Regions from separate parts of the Homo sapiens genome. Here region 2 is linked to region 1. Evidence: promoter capture Hi-C in 16 types of primary human blood cells and fetal thymus (Javierre and others, 2016). All regions are on one chromosome and are shown on one strand. Each heading gives the region's core, a stretch centred on a gene start or on the middle of the fragment in contact. The rest is flanking DNA. Distances are from core to core; before and after follow the strand shown. Region 1 holds the start of AVPR2 (arginine vasopressin receptor 2). Region 2 overlaps PLXNB3-AS1 (PLXNB3 antisense RNA 1).

The links. Contacts are between HindIII fragments. The CHiCAGO score rates a contact against its expected background, and 5 or more counts as called.
Region 2: a fragment that was not itself captured here is called in contact with the fragment with the promoter of AVPR2 in region 1 in 10 of 17 cell types (total CD8 T cells, M1 macrophages, M0 macrophages and 7 more); the score reaches 7.8 in total CD8 T cells.

The regions. Positions count from the first base shown.
Region 1 is chrX:153,898,377-153,905,922 of GRCh38, forward strand. It overlaps AVPR2 (arginine vasopressin receptor 2), which reads left to right and starts at 6,297. Exons shown (of 4, transcript NM_000054.7): 1 at 6,297-6,395; 2 at 6,598-6,794; 3 at 7,156-7,546. The coding sequence starts at 6,770. The HindIII fragment of the contact is 5,945 bases long and covers 2,303-7,546 here.
Region 2 is chrX:153,755,307-153,762,416 of GRCh38, forward strand. All of the region lies in intron 2 of PLXNB3-AS1 (PLXNB3 antisense RNA 1), which reads right to left. Among named protein-coding and RNA genes, the nearest start is that of PLXNB3, 5.4 kb to the right of the region's middle. The HindIII fragment of the contact is 6,541 bases long and covers 1,446-7,110 here.

The DNA.
Region 1 (7,546 bases), core at 5,047-7,546:
CACATAATCAAGAAAACACAACCATTTCAAATATATAAGCACCTAATCTACCAAATATATGAAACAAAATTTATAGGACTAAAGGGTTCTAGATACAGATAAATCTCCAAACATACTGGCCAACTTTAACATTCCTTTCTCAGTAAATGATAAAACAAATAGGAAAAAAATCAGAAGAATATAGATTTGAACAACACTATCAACCTAATTGACTCAATTGATATGTACGGAACACTACATCCAACAACAGCAGAACACATATTCTTCTCAAGTGCAGATGGAACCCCAACCAACACAGACAACTTCTGGGCAATCGAGCAAGCCTCAATAAATTACAAAGGGTCAAAATCATACAAAGTACGATTTCTGACCAAAATGATGTTGAATTAGAAATCAACAACAAAAAGACATCTAGGAATTTTCTAAATATTTTGAAATGAAAAAATATCTACTTCCAAATAACCCAAGAACCAAAGAAGAAACCACAAGTAAAATTATTGGTAGAACATATCTTTCACTGAATAGAAATGCAAATAAAATATGAAAATTTGGGAATTCAACAAAACAACTGATTAGAGGAAAAGGAACTACTTATATTAGAAAAGCAGAAAGGTCCCAAAATAATTATTTAAATTTCTACTTTAAGAAACTAGAGCCGGTCACGGTGGCTCACACCTGTAATCCCAGCACTTTGGGAGGCCGAGGCAGGCAGATCATGAGGTCAAGAGATCGAGATGATCCTGACCAACATGGTGAAACCCCATCTCTACTAAAAAATACAAAAATTAGCTGGGCGTGGTGGTGTGCACCTGTAATCCCAGCTACTCAGGAGGCTGAGGCAGAAGAATTGCTTGAATCTGGGAGGCAGAAGTTGCAGTGAGCCAAGATCACACCACTGCACTCCAGCCTGGGCAACAAGAGCAAAACTTCGTTTCAAAACAAAACAAAACAAAAAGATCAATGAAATTGATAAGCCTCTAGCCAGACTGATCAGAAAAAAAAAATGGAGAGAAGATACAAATTACCAATATGGAGAATAAGAGAGAGGGGGCATTATTACAGATCCTACAAACATAAAAAAGTGATAAGAGGATGTTGTGAAAAACTTATTCCAATACATCCAACAACTTAGATGAAATGGACAAATTCCTTGAAAGATACAAATGGTCAACGCTCATTTAGGAAAAAATAGATAACCTGATTAGCCCTGTATCTGTCAGAAGAGTTGAATTTATAACTGAAAAAATTCTCACAAAGAAAACTCCAGGTTTGTGTAAATAATACCAATTCTATACTAACTCTTCCAGAAAACAGAAAAAGAGAGAACACTTCCCAACTCGTTTTATAAAGTCAGCATTATACTCATCCCCAAACCAAAGATATTACAGAAAGGGAAAACGTAGACCAGCATCTCTCATTAATACAGATGTAAAAATGGTAAACAACAGCCAGGCACAGTGGCTCACACCTGTCATCCCAGCACTTTGGGAGGCCAAGGTGGGTGGATCAGAGGTCAAGAGATCGAGACCATCCTGGTTAACATGATGAAACCCTGTCTCTACTAAAAACACAAAAATTGGCCGGGTGTGGTGGCTCATGCCTGTAATCCCAGCACTTTGGGAGGCCGAGGCAGGTGGATCACCTGAGGTCGGGAATTCGAGACCAGCCTGACCAACATGAAGAAACCCCGTCTCTACTAAAAGTACAAAATTAGCTGGGCATGGTGGCGCTTGCCTGTAATCCCAGCTACTTGGGAGGCTGAGGCAAGAGAATCTCTTGAACCTGGGAGGCGAAGGTTGCAGTGAGCCAAGATCTCGCCATTGCACTGCAGCCTGGGCAACAAGAGTGAAACTCCGACTCAAAAAAAAAAAGAAAAAAAAGAAAAAAATTCAATACTCACTTGTGATAAAAGCTTTCAGTATACCGGGTGACAGAGTGAGAGACTATGCCTCCTCCCCACCAAAAAAAATATAAAAAAAAAAAAGAAGTTACACAAAATACTATGTACTCTTTTATTTATTTATTTATTTTTATTATTATTTTTTTTTGAGACGGAGTCTTGCTGTGTCACCCAGGCTGGAGTGCAATGGCAAGATCTCGGCTCACTGAAACCTCCGCCTCCCGGGTTCAAGCGATTCTCCAGCCTCAGCCTCTGAGTAGCTGGGATTACAGGCTTGCGCCACCACGCCCGGCTAATTTTTGAAAATACTACATACTCTATGATTCTATTTATATAAAATTCTAGAAAAGGAAAATCTATAGTGATAGATCAGTGGTTGCTAGGCTTTCAGGTAGGGGAAGAAGCTTGACTGCAAAAGGCCACGAGGGAACTTTCTGGAATGTCGAAAATATTTATTCTATGTCATGATTGTGGTTGTGGTTACACGACTGTATACATTTGTCAAATCTTACTGAACAGTACAATTACAATTAATGAATTTTACTGTATGCTAATCATACCTCAATAAAGCCGAAAAAAAAAAAAGTCATTCTGGAGGAGAGAAATCATTGCCTGCGGAGGGCCATTCCAGGGTGGTGAGTGCATGAGCACTGAAGACACCCGGAGCAGCTGCTGCAATAATCTGGGGGAGGAACGTGCAGGCAGAGAGAGCAAGAGGAAGTCAGACTGGGAAACCCCGAGGCAGTTACCCAAACAGCCCACTAACAGCAACTGCAGTCGGCCGCCTCTGGGGAGGAAAGCGGGAGGGGCCACTGCCTTTAAAAAAGAAAAAAAAAAAAAATCTCTGCAGTTTTGCCAGGGAGCCGCCTCCTGCCTGACTCTCACATGATGACCTGGAGGCCATCTATGGGTACGGCCCTCAAGCCCTCAACGCTCACCCTCCTTCTACCCCCCGCCCCTCACCCCAGCACCTGCTGGAGACCCTGGCCCTCCCTTCCACTCCGCGAGGCTCTTAATCTATCCAGTTCCATGGGCTGCCTTTCCGCAGCTATAAACAGGCTCTGTCCAGCTTTCCCAGTTATTATTCACTTAGGTGAATGGACACAATTAGATGATCATCCGCAGGCTGTCTTCCTGTCATCATTGGCACACGCACACACCCTCACACACGCACACACCCTCACACACGCACACACCCTCACACACGCGCACACCCTCACACACAACCCCCCCAACGCCACACACACACACACCACACACCCTCACACACAACCACCCACGCCACACACACACCACACACCCTCACATGCACACCCTCACACACCACACACCACACACACCCCACACACACGCCCACCCTCACATACGCACACTCTCACACACACCCTCACACACTCTCACACCCTCACACACGCACACCCTCACACACACCCTCACATTCACACAAGTACACTTGAGTTTTTATTAAATTTGTTTTTGTCCCCTTCAATCCCATCCTCCAACCCGTTGTTCCTCCCTATCTCCTGGGCTCTAGGTATTCTCCTTCGGGTCACAGTCCCTGTGAGGGCCGTTCCTGTTGACAGGCACTTGGCTCCGTCCTTCCCACTGCCCACAGGCTCCACCATCTGCACATGCACCCCTCCCACACAATCGGGGGCCTCTTTCTCCTCGTCCTTGGCTGCCTCCTCTTTGTCTTCCACCCCTTACAAATCCTTCAGGGCCCTTTAAATGCCTTTTCCACCTGCCTGCTCCCTCTAGCCCCGCTGCCCAGTGTTAAGTGGGTCGCACCATTTCTCTCCTGGGTGACAGGCACAGCTTCCACCAGCCTCCCTGCCTCCACTCTTCTCTGCAGAAGCCCATGTGCTCCTGGGGCAGAGCCCAGGTCCTTCCATCTCTGCAGCCACAGTGCTAGGCCAGCGGCACTTGCAGTTTGGTGAATGGAAGGTTCTGATCATGGGGAACCGGTAGATAGAGAGGGACAAACAGTGTCCCCCCAATCTGCCTCCTGTCCTCTTCTGCCCAGACACTAGGCTGGAAGATCAGGAGCCACACCTTGGCACTCACAGAGCCCTTTCTGCAAGTCTTAGAGGGACCAGTGGGAGGTGTGCACACAGGGGCTGCGCTGGCAGGAGTGGGGGCCTGGCACACCCCCAGGTAGATGCCCTGCCCGTTAACGCCCAAGGGCAGGGGCTTGAGTGACTCATGTGGGCCTAGCGTGAATCAGCACAGTCTGCCCTTCTTCCCATGGGAGCTGCTGCCCAGCCCCATCTTTCTTGGCCCCCGAGGGGTGGCTGCCCAGGGCCTCTCTCCTGGCACAGTTCCATGTAGTGCCTGCCCATGTGGCTCCCAGTTCCTCCCCGGGGTCCTGGCTGAGCAGAATGGCACTGGATCCTGATCTGGCTTCTTGCATCCCAGAGGAGACCGCCATGCGGGCCCTTCCTCCAGATTCTTCCCTAGTTTAACAACAGGAAGCGAGGAGTCCAGGGGGGCAGAGATTGCCACGGGCCTGGCCACATTGCTAGGGGAGGTCCCAACCTGCTGCTGAGATCCGGCACTGCACAGCCTCGTTCAGGCAGAGAAACTGATAAGGAGATGGTTGTCTGCTCACCCCAAAAGGTTAGCATGGATTCCTCGCCCTAGCCGGCTTTAGACGGAGGGAACAAAGGCTTTCCCAAGGCCCTGCCAGTCCCCACCCCTGCCCATCTTACCACCGTAGTCTCCCTCAATCATCAAGTCCCATTGCACAGAAGGGGAAGCTGAGGTGCCAAGAGCTGGCGTGGCCTGTTCAAGGTCACACTACTGGGCAGGGGCCAAGCAGGGGCTGGAGCCTTGCTTTCCTATTCCCCAGCCAGGGTCCCCAAATTCTCTGCCAGTTGAGGGAAGCCATCTCCTATTCCACTGATCTGGGTGGCATTAGGAAGGCCTTTTCTATGCTCCTAGATTAGTGACAGCATGCGGTTATTGGGGACAGCATGAGGATGTGCATGCGCTGAGGAGATGCAGCTGAAGCGTCAGGCCTGGGGTGCCAGCACTCTGCAGCCTGCCCCCAAGGGGCTCTGCAAAAACATGGCAAAGATGCGGGGTGTGATGTGCACCTGTGTGTGCTGCGGGTGTGTGCGTGTGTGGTGTTGGCTGTGCGTATGTGGTGTGTATGGCTGTGTGGTGGGTACATGTGTGGGTGTGTGGCGTATGGGAGTGTGTGATGTGTGCATGTGTGTGGTGTGTAATATATGTGTGCATGGTGTGGTGTGTGTGTGGTGTGGCGTATGGGTGTGTGGTGGGTGCATGTGTGTGTGGCGTGTGGCTGTGTGCATGTATGTATGTGGTGTGGTGTGTGCGCTGTCTCTGGAAAATGCCCACCCTGTGTTCCCACCACCCTAACAGGGCCGGGAGGGGCCAGGGTGCTGCCAGGCTCTCTGGGCAGGAAGAGGAGGCCTTGGCCGCGGGCCGGACTTGGGCCTGGTCCGTGAGGCTGTTTTGGTCTCTGGCTTCACAGGCAACAGAGAAGACAGACAAACAGGAAGAAAGCAGCTGCCTTGGGCTGGGCTGGGCTGGGCTGGCCTCGGCTGAGCCAAGCCAGGCCTGGGTGCGGGGGGAGTGGAAAGAGAACTACTGGGATGGGGGCTGGAGGGGGTGTGGGGACAGGGGAAGGAGAGAGGTGTTGGGGGAGGGAGGAGGAGGGCTCAGGTACAGGGAAGGTGCGTCCATACTCATGGTATGTTCAAGAACATGAGCGAGCGTCTCTGTGTTGTGTGTTTGTGGCTGTGTGGCTGTATCATGTGAGGTTGTGTGTGGTGGGAGGGAGCCCGTGAGCACACGGAGGTCCCCAGCCCCTCTTCCTAGGACAGGTAGTTGCAGGTGGGGCAGGAGGAAGAGGGTGGGGGTGTCCCTGGATCTCACAGGGGTTCGTGAAGCCTGGCTTGGCCCCTGCCCCACTCCTCCCTTTCCTGTCCCTCGTCTCCGGCCAACTGGGCCCTAACTGGGGAGGAGGAGGGGCCTGCGTGGGCCTGGGAGGGGCCCAGCGAAAGTGTTTTCACCCCTTCCTTGCCTGGGCCCAGCGAGGAGCAGGAGGACCCCAACTTGGGAAGGGGGCGTGAAGCTCCCATGAAAAAGCAGCGCAGTCCTGGGCCAGACCCACCGCTCTCTGGCCTCAGTTTCCCCACTTATAAAATGGGAATGCTGAACTAAGTGACCTCCCAGAGCACTGCCAACCCAGACAATCCAACCAGGGGGGCGTGGTAGGGTGAGGGTGGGCGTGGAGGCTATGGCAGTGGGAGGAGGGAGTCCTGGGCCGGGACCAGGGAGGCCCTGGGGAAAGGAAGGGAAACAGGAGGCCAGGGGAGGCCTGGGGGAAAGGGGGAGGGGGAGGAAGTCCCCTCCTGGCCAGGTCACTCCCAGAGGCTGGGCTGGGCCAGGGCAGGGCAGCCGATGGAGAGCAGATCTGAGCACCCAGCCACCTTCACGCCACCGCCCAGCTGCCCAGGAGCCCAGCCAGGTAAGGGGCTGCGCCTGCCTGCCCCCCTGCCCAGTCCCCAGCCCTCGGATGGTGGCCTCTCTCGGCCTCGGTTGGGGCAGGGGAGTTCTGCGTGTCTGTCTGGGGTGCCCACTCCCAAACCCGGGACTCATGGGCTGCCTGGGGGATCCTGGGTTCTGTGCATCCGTCTGTCTGACCATCCCTCTCAATCTTCCCTGCCCAGGACTGGCCATACTGCCACCGACACGTGCACACACGCCAACAGGCATCTGCCATGCTGGCATCTCTATAAGGGCTCCAGTCCAGAGACCCTGGGCCATTGAACTTGCTCCTCAGGCAGAGGCTGAGTCCGCACATCACCTCCAGGCCCTCAGAACACCTGCCCCAGCCCCACCATGCTCATGGCGTCCACCACTTCCGGTAAGGCTTGCCCCTCCATGAGTCCGGTGGGCAGAGTGGGTTTGACGATTCAGGGAAGCCCCTCTTTCTAAAGACCTCCTTCACCCTCACCTCTGGGTGTGTCTCTCCAGGCTGCCAATGAGTGGGGAGGGGAGCACAGCCCCACTTCCCCGCCAGGGCTGGGGCTGGGGCTGGGGCTGGGGCTGCCCTTCCTTCTGGACTGCATGAGCCTGGGGTGTGTATCCCTCATAACATGGCTTTCCTGGAGTCCCCTCTGCTAGGAGCCAGGAAGTGGGTGTCCGGATGGGGGCACGGGAGGCAGGCCTGAGTCCCCCTGCACAGCACCCTCTCTAACCAGGCCCTCTTCCCGACTCCTTCCCAGCTGTGCCTGGGCATCCCTCTCTGCCCAGCCTGCCCAGCAACAGCAGCCAGGAGAGGCCACTGGACACCCGGGACCCGCTGCTAGCCCGGGCGGAGCTGGCGCTGCTCTCCATAGTCTTTGTGGCTGTGGCCCTGAGCAATGGCCTGGTGCTGGCGGCCCTAGCTCGGCGGGGCCGGCGGGGCCACTGGGCACCCATACACGTCTTCATTGGCCACTTGTGCCTGGCCGACCTGGCCGTGGCTCTGTTCCAAGTGCTGCCCCAGCTGGCCTGGAAGGCCACCGACCGCTTCCGTGGGCCAGATGCCCTGTGTCGGGCCGTGAAGTATCTGCAGATGGTGGGCATGTATGCCTCCTCCTACATGATCCTGGCCATGACGCTGGACCGCCACCG
Region 2 (7,110 bases), core at 3,466-5,965, 140 kb before region 1:
CTCTATCACCCCACCTGGAGTACAGTGGCTCAATCACAGTTCACTGCAGCCTTGACCTCCTGGGCTTCTCCCACCTCAGCTTCCTGAGTAGCTGAGACTACAAATGTGCACCATCATGCCTGACTAATTAGTATTAATATTATTGCTATTATTGAGACAGGGTCTTGTTTAGTTGCCTGGGCTGGTCTTGAATTTCTGGGCTCAAGTGATCCTCCTGCCTTGGCCTCTCAAAGTGCTGGAATTACAGGTGTGAGCCATCATGCCTCACCTAGTAGCATTTCTATATGCTATATGCTAACAATGCACTTTCTTTTTTTTTTTTTTTTTTTTGAGACAGAGTCTCTGTTGCCCAGGCTGGAGTGCAGTGGCACTATCTCGGCTCACTGCAAGCTCCGCCTCCCGGGTTCACGCCATTCTCCTGTCTCAGCCTCTCCGAGTAGCTGGGACTACAGGCGCCCGCCACCATGCCCAGCTAATTTTTTGTATTTTTAGTAGAGACAGGGTTTCACCGTGGTCTCGATTCCTGACCTTGTGATCCGCCCACCTCGGCCTCCCAAAGTGCTGGGATTACAAGCGTGAGCCACTGCGCCCAGCCAATGCACTTTCTAAAAAAGAAATCATCAAAGAAGATTTATTTTGTTATCCAAAAAGGAAATCAAGCCAACAATCTCATTTATAATAGCTATAAAAAATAAAATACTTAGGAATAAGTTTAACCAAGGAGGTGAAAGACCTATACACCGAAAACTGTAAACCACAGATGAAAGAAACTGAAGAAAACACAAATAAATGGAAAGATACCCTGTGTTCATGGATTGGGATAGTTAATATTGTTAAAATGTCTATACTACCCAAAGTGATCTACACATTCAATGTAATCCCTATCAATATTCCCATGAGATTTTTCACAGAAATAGAGAAAGCAATTCTAAAATGTATGTTAAACCACAAAAGACCCCAAATAGCCAAAGCAATCTTGAACAAAAAGAACAAAACTGGAAGACTCATGCTATCTGATCTCAAAATATGTTACAAAGCTATAGTAACCAAAACAGCATGGTTCTGGCATAAAAACAGACACATACACCAACGTAACAGAATAGTGAACCCAGAAATAAATCTATGCATTTACAGTTGATTGATCTTCGACAAAGGTGCCAATAATACATGATAGACAAAAGACAGTCTTGTCAATAAATGGTGTTGGGAAAATTGGATATTCACTTGCAGTAGAATGAAATTAGACCCTTATCTCACACAATGCACAAAGATCAACTCAAAACGGACTGAAGATTCAAATGTGAGACCTGAAATTAGAAAACTACTAGAAGAAACTTACGTGAAAAGCTGCTTGGCACTGGTCTGGGCAATAAGTTTTTCAATATGACACCAAAAGCACAGGCAACAAAACAAAAACAGACAAATGAGTTTGCATCAAACTAAAAAGCTTCTGCACAGCAGAGGAAGCAATCAACAGAGTGAAGGAGACAGCCTATGGAATGGAAGAACATAGTTGTAAACCATCCATCTGATACAAGGTTAATACACAGAACACACAAGGAACTCATACAACTCAATAGCAAGCAAATGTATTTTCTAACCCAGTTAAAATAACCCAGTTACACCTACTATGTACTCCTAAAAATTAAAAATTGAAAATTGAAAAAATAAATAACCCAATTTAAATGGGCAAGGACCTGAACAGGCATTTCTCAAAAGAAGACATACAAACGGCCAATAGGTCTATTAAAAAAAAATGCTCAACATCAGCCGGGTGCAGTGCTCACGCCTGTAATCCTAGCACTTTGGGAAGCCGAGGTGAGTGGATCACCTGAGGTCAAGAGTTCAGGACCTGCCTGGCCAACATGGTGAAACCCTGTCTCTACTAAAAATACAAAACTTAGCCAGGTGTGGTGGCATACGCCTGTAATCCCAGCTACTCCAGAGGCTGAGGCAGGAGAATCACTTGAATCCGGGGGGCAGAGGTTGCAGTAAGCCAAGATCGCGCCACTTCACTCCAGCCTGGGCGAAAGAACAAAACTCCATCTTAAAAAAAGAAAAAAATGCTCGACATCACCAATCATCAGGGAAATGCAACTCAAAACCACAATGAGACACCACCTCACTCAAATTAGAATGATCGTTTTCAAAAAGACAAAAGAAAACAAACTTTGGCGAGGGTGTGGAGAAAAGGGAACATTTTGGAACAGTATGGAAAATGGTATGCATGGTGGTTCCTCAAAATATTTAAAGTGAGAATGACCATACAATCCAGCAATCCCATTTCTGGGTATGTATCTAAAGGAAATGAAATCGGTATGTCGAGGCAATATCCACACTCGCATGTCCATTGAAGCACTACTCACAATCGCCAAGATATGGAATCAAACGAAATGCCCACCAACAGATGAATGGATAAAGAAAATGTGGTACAGATACACAATGGATCACTACTCAGCCTTTAAAAAGAAGGCAATCCTGCCATTTGCAACATGGAGGAACCTGGAGGACATTACATTAAGTGAAGTAAGCCGGGCACAGAAAGGCAAATACTGCATGACGCTGCTCACGTGGAAAGTAAAAATGTCAGCCTCATGGAAACAGAGCAGAACAGTGGCCGCCAGGACTGGGGTAGGGGAAATGGGAAAATGCTGGTCAAAGGGTACCAAGTTTCAGTTATGCAGGATGGAGACGTTCCAGAGATCTGATGTACAGCATGGTGATTCTAGTTAACACATTTAAAAAAATAAAACCAAAAAATTTGTTGCAAAAGTAAATAATTTATTGTTTAAGGCTAATTCATATTTGGGACAAGTATAAAGAAAACCAAGGAAAGGCTAGGACTAACTGCGAAGGGAAAAAGAAGGGTCCATGATGGCTGTCAGTGGGGATGATTCATCTAAGCAGCATATGCTCTTCCGTGTGTATTAGATTGAACAAGATGAAACTGCAATTTTTGTAGGTTAACAATAAATGAACATTAAGCAACGTCATCTGGTTTTGACCCAAGACATTTATTAATAATAAATCAATGATAAAATAAAACCAAAACACTTTATGCTAATAAACTTGAAAACTTAAACAAAATGGGCATGTTCCAGCCAGGCGCGGTGGCTCACGCTTGTAATCCCAGCACTTTGGGAGACCGACGCAGGTGGATCACCTGAGGTCAGGAGTTCAAGACCAGCCTGGCCAACACAGTGAAACTCCGTCTCTGCTAAAAATACAAAAATCAGCTGGGCGTGGTAGCGGGCACCTGTAATCCCAGCTACTCGAGAGGCTGAGGCAGGAGGATTGCTTGAACCCAGGAGGCAAAGGTTGCAGTGAGCCAAGATCATGCCACTGCACTCCAGCCCGGGCGACAGAGCTAGATTCTGTCTAAAAAAAAAAAAAAAAAAGCATGTTCCTAGAAAAATATTGTTTATCAAAAATTGACTCAAAATAGAATGATTCATCCTAAATTCAGATAGAATCTCAAGGGGCTCCAAATAACCAAAACAATTCTGAAAAAGGAGAACAAAGTTCGAGGACTCACACTTCCTGATTTACAAAATAAAACATATTACAGTGTGGTCCTGGCATAAAGACAGAGACAGAATATAATCCAGAGCCCAGAAAGAAACTCTCAAGTATATGGTCAGATGATTTTTGACAAGGGTATCAAGGCTACAAATTGGGAAAAGGGCAGTCTTTTCAACAAATGGTATAGGGGAAACTTGATATCCACATGCAAAAGAATAAAGTTGGAGGCTGGGCATGGTGGCTCACACCTGTAATCCCAGTGCTTTGGGAAGCCAAGGTAGGAGGATTGATTGAGTCTGGGAATGGGAGACCAGCCTGGGCAAAGTAACAAGATCCCATCTCTACCAAAAACATTAAAAATTTGAGGCTGAAGCACAAAAATTGCTTGAACCCGGGAGGCAGAGGTTGCAGTGAGCTGAGATCACGCCACTGTACTCCAGCCTGGGTGACAAAGTGAGATCTGTCTCAAAAAAAAAAATTAAATTAAAAATTAGCTGGGCATGGTGGTGAATGCCTATAGTCCCAGCTACCCAGGAGGCTGAGGCAGGAGAATTGCTTGAGACCAGGAGTTTGAGGTTACAATGATTATGCCACTGCACCCCAGCCTGGGCAACAGAGCAAGACCTGTCTCAAAAAAAAAAAAAAAAAAGATGGCAAATTTTGTGTTATGTATTTTTTCCCACAATAAAAAAATTACTCAAGAAGAAACAGAAAACCTAAATGGTCCCATAATTATTACAGAAGTTGGATTCATTGTTTAAAATCTATAGGGGGACAGGCAGGAAGCTACAAAAACAAGGAAGGCCAGGCCAGATGCGGTGGCTCATGCCTGTAATCCCAGCACTTTGTGAGGCCGAGGCAGGCAGATCACCTGAGGTCAGGAGTTCAAGACCAGACTGGCCAACATGGCGAAACACCGTCTCTACTAAAAATACAAAACTTAGCTGGACGTGGTGGTGCATGCCTGCAGTCCCAGCTACTCGGGAGGCTGAGGCAGGAGAATCGCTTGCACCCAGGAGGCAGAGGTTGCAGTAAGCCAAGACTGTACCACTGCACTCCAGCCTGGGCAACAGAGTGAGACTCTGTCTCAAAACAACAACAAAACAAAACAAAACAAAACAAAAAAAACAAAGAAGAGAAAAGAAAAGAAACAAAACAAAAAACAGAAAATAAAAAACAAGGAAGGCCTAGATGGTTTTACAGATGATCTCCAGCAAACATGGAAGTAACTGATCATCTCCATCTTAGACTAACTGTTCCAGTGAACAGCTGAAAAAGGAAATACTGCCTCAACTCACTTTACGATGTCTTGATACCAAAACCAGACGAGGATAATAATACGAGGCTAAAAAAAAAAAAAAAAACCACCCAATCCAGAATTGTATATGAAAAAAATACATCACGCAAAGTTGAGTTTAGTCCAGAAAATACAAGAGTGGTTTAACATTTAAAAATGAATTAATGTAATTTGCCACATTAACAGATTAGAGGAGGAAAACCCTGTGATCATATTAATGCATTCAGAAAAAGCATTTTATAAAAATTCAACATATAGCACACTAGGAATGGGAGGGAGCTTTCTAAATCTGATAAACATATCTACCGAATGCTCCCTGCAAACATCATACTTAATAATGGAACACTGAGAATGCCTCCTATGCTTTTTTTTTTTTTTTTTTTTTTTTTTTGAGACAGAGTTTCGCTTTTGTTGCCCAGGCTGGAGTGCAATGGCTCGATCTTGGCTCACCGCAACCTCGGCCTCCTGGGTTCAAGCGAGTCTCCTGCCTCAGCCTCCCAAGTAGCTGGGATTACAAGCATGGGCCACCATGCTCGGCTAATTTTTTTGTATTTTTAGTAGAGACAGAGTTTCTCCATGTTGGTCAGGCTGGTCTCGAACTCCTGACCTCAGGTGATCCACCCACCTCGGCCTCCCAAAGTGCTGGGATTACAGGCGTGAGCCACCATGCCCAGCGCCTCCTATGCTTTCATTCAAAGGAAGTAAAAGCAAGAGAAAGCAAGTCCAGGGAAGTAAAGCAAGGAAACGAAATCAGCCGGGCACAGTGGCTCACGCCTGTAATCCTAGCACTTTGGGAGGCCAAGGCAGGTGGATCAGGAGTTCCAGATCAGCCTGGCCAACATGGTGAAACCCTGTGTCTGGTAAAGATACAAAAATTAGTCAGGCGTGGTGGTGGGTGCCTGTAGTCCCAGCTTCTTGGGAGGCTGAGGCAGGAGAACTGCTTGAACCAGGGAGGCGGAGGTTGCAGTGAGCCAAGATTGTGCCACTATACTCCAGCCTGGGTGACAGAGCCAGACTCTGCCTCAAAAAAAGAAATCAAAGCTAAAAAGACTGGAATAGAAGAAACAAAATGGTCATTACTTGCAGATGATAGGATTGTGTACGCAGAAAATCAAAAAGAATCCACAAAGAGAACCCAAACATAATTATTAGACTTAATATGAGAGTTTACAAGGTTACTTGATACATAGAAATCCATTGTTTTTCTATGTACCAGCAACACACAGTCTGAATGGGAATTCAAAAGAAGGTAGCCAGGCGCAGTGGCTCACAGGCTCACGGGCCAGCACTTTGGGAAGCCAAGGCGGGAGGGCCGCTTGAGTCCAGGAGTTTGAGACCAGCCTGGGCAACATAGCGAGACCCTGTCTCTACAAAAAAATTACAAAATTAGCCAGGCACTGTGGCGCCTGCCTGTAGTCCCAGGTGTTTGGGAGGCTAAGGTGGGAGGATCACTTGAGCCCAGGAGGCTTCAGTGAGCCATGATTGCGCCAATGCACCCCAGCCTGCACGACAGAGCGAGACCCCGTCTCAAAAAAAGAAATCAGATTGATAAATGCTATGATATTAAAATTAAGACTTTCTGTTTATCACATGATACATCAGCAAACTGAGAAGACAAGTAACAGGTAGGCCGAAGACATACACCCCAGGGATTGGTGTGGAAAATACAGAACACCTGCAAAGTGTAAGCCAAGACATGCACGGGCATTTGACAGAAGAAATGAAAAGTGCTGCAATATGGCCGGTGGTCAAGGAATGCCGATTCAAAACCCAGCAGGGCACCATTTCACACCCACTGTATGCGCAGAAACTCTCAAGTCTGCTCTCTGGTGTACGTGAAGACGTGGTGCAGCAGTGGCAGTGGGGGTGTCCGCTGGGATGCCAGCATGGAGAGCTACGTCTTCAGCCCAGCAAACGTGAAGCCCACGTCCCACTGACCCAACGAGTCCCCTTCCAGCATTGAGAAGCCTGGCACACAGCAAGGAGACGACACCAGATCAGTTGACGCTGCCTTCCCATCCCTTGGTGAGGGGACCCGGCCATTGCAGGATAAATCCAGCACGACTCCCCTGACATAAGATGTTCCGGTTCCCCAAACCAGCCTAGATCCTTTCTGGTTACACCAGCTTCAGACCAGGGGCTGCCATAGCCACGCCTCTTATCTGCTCAGAAAGCGTAGAAGGTGCATATGCAGGCCATATACACACATATTTATGAAAATGGTGCTGCCTGTGGATGGATTTATTTTCTTTTTTCTTTCTTTCTTTTCTTTTTTTTTTAAAGACAGAGTC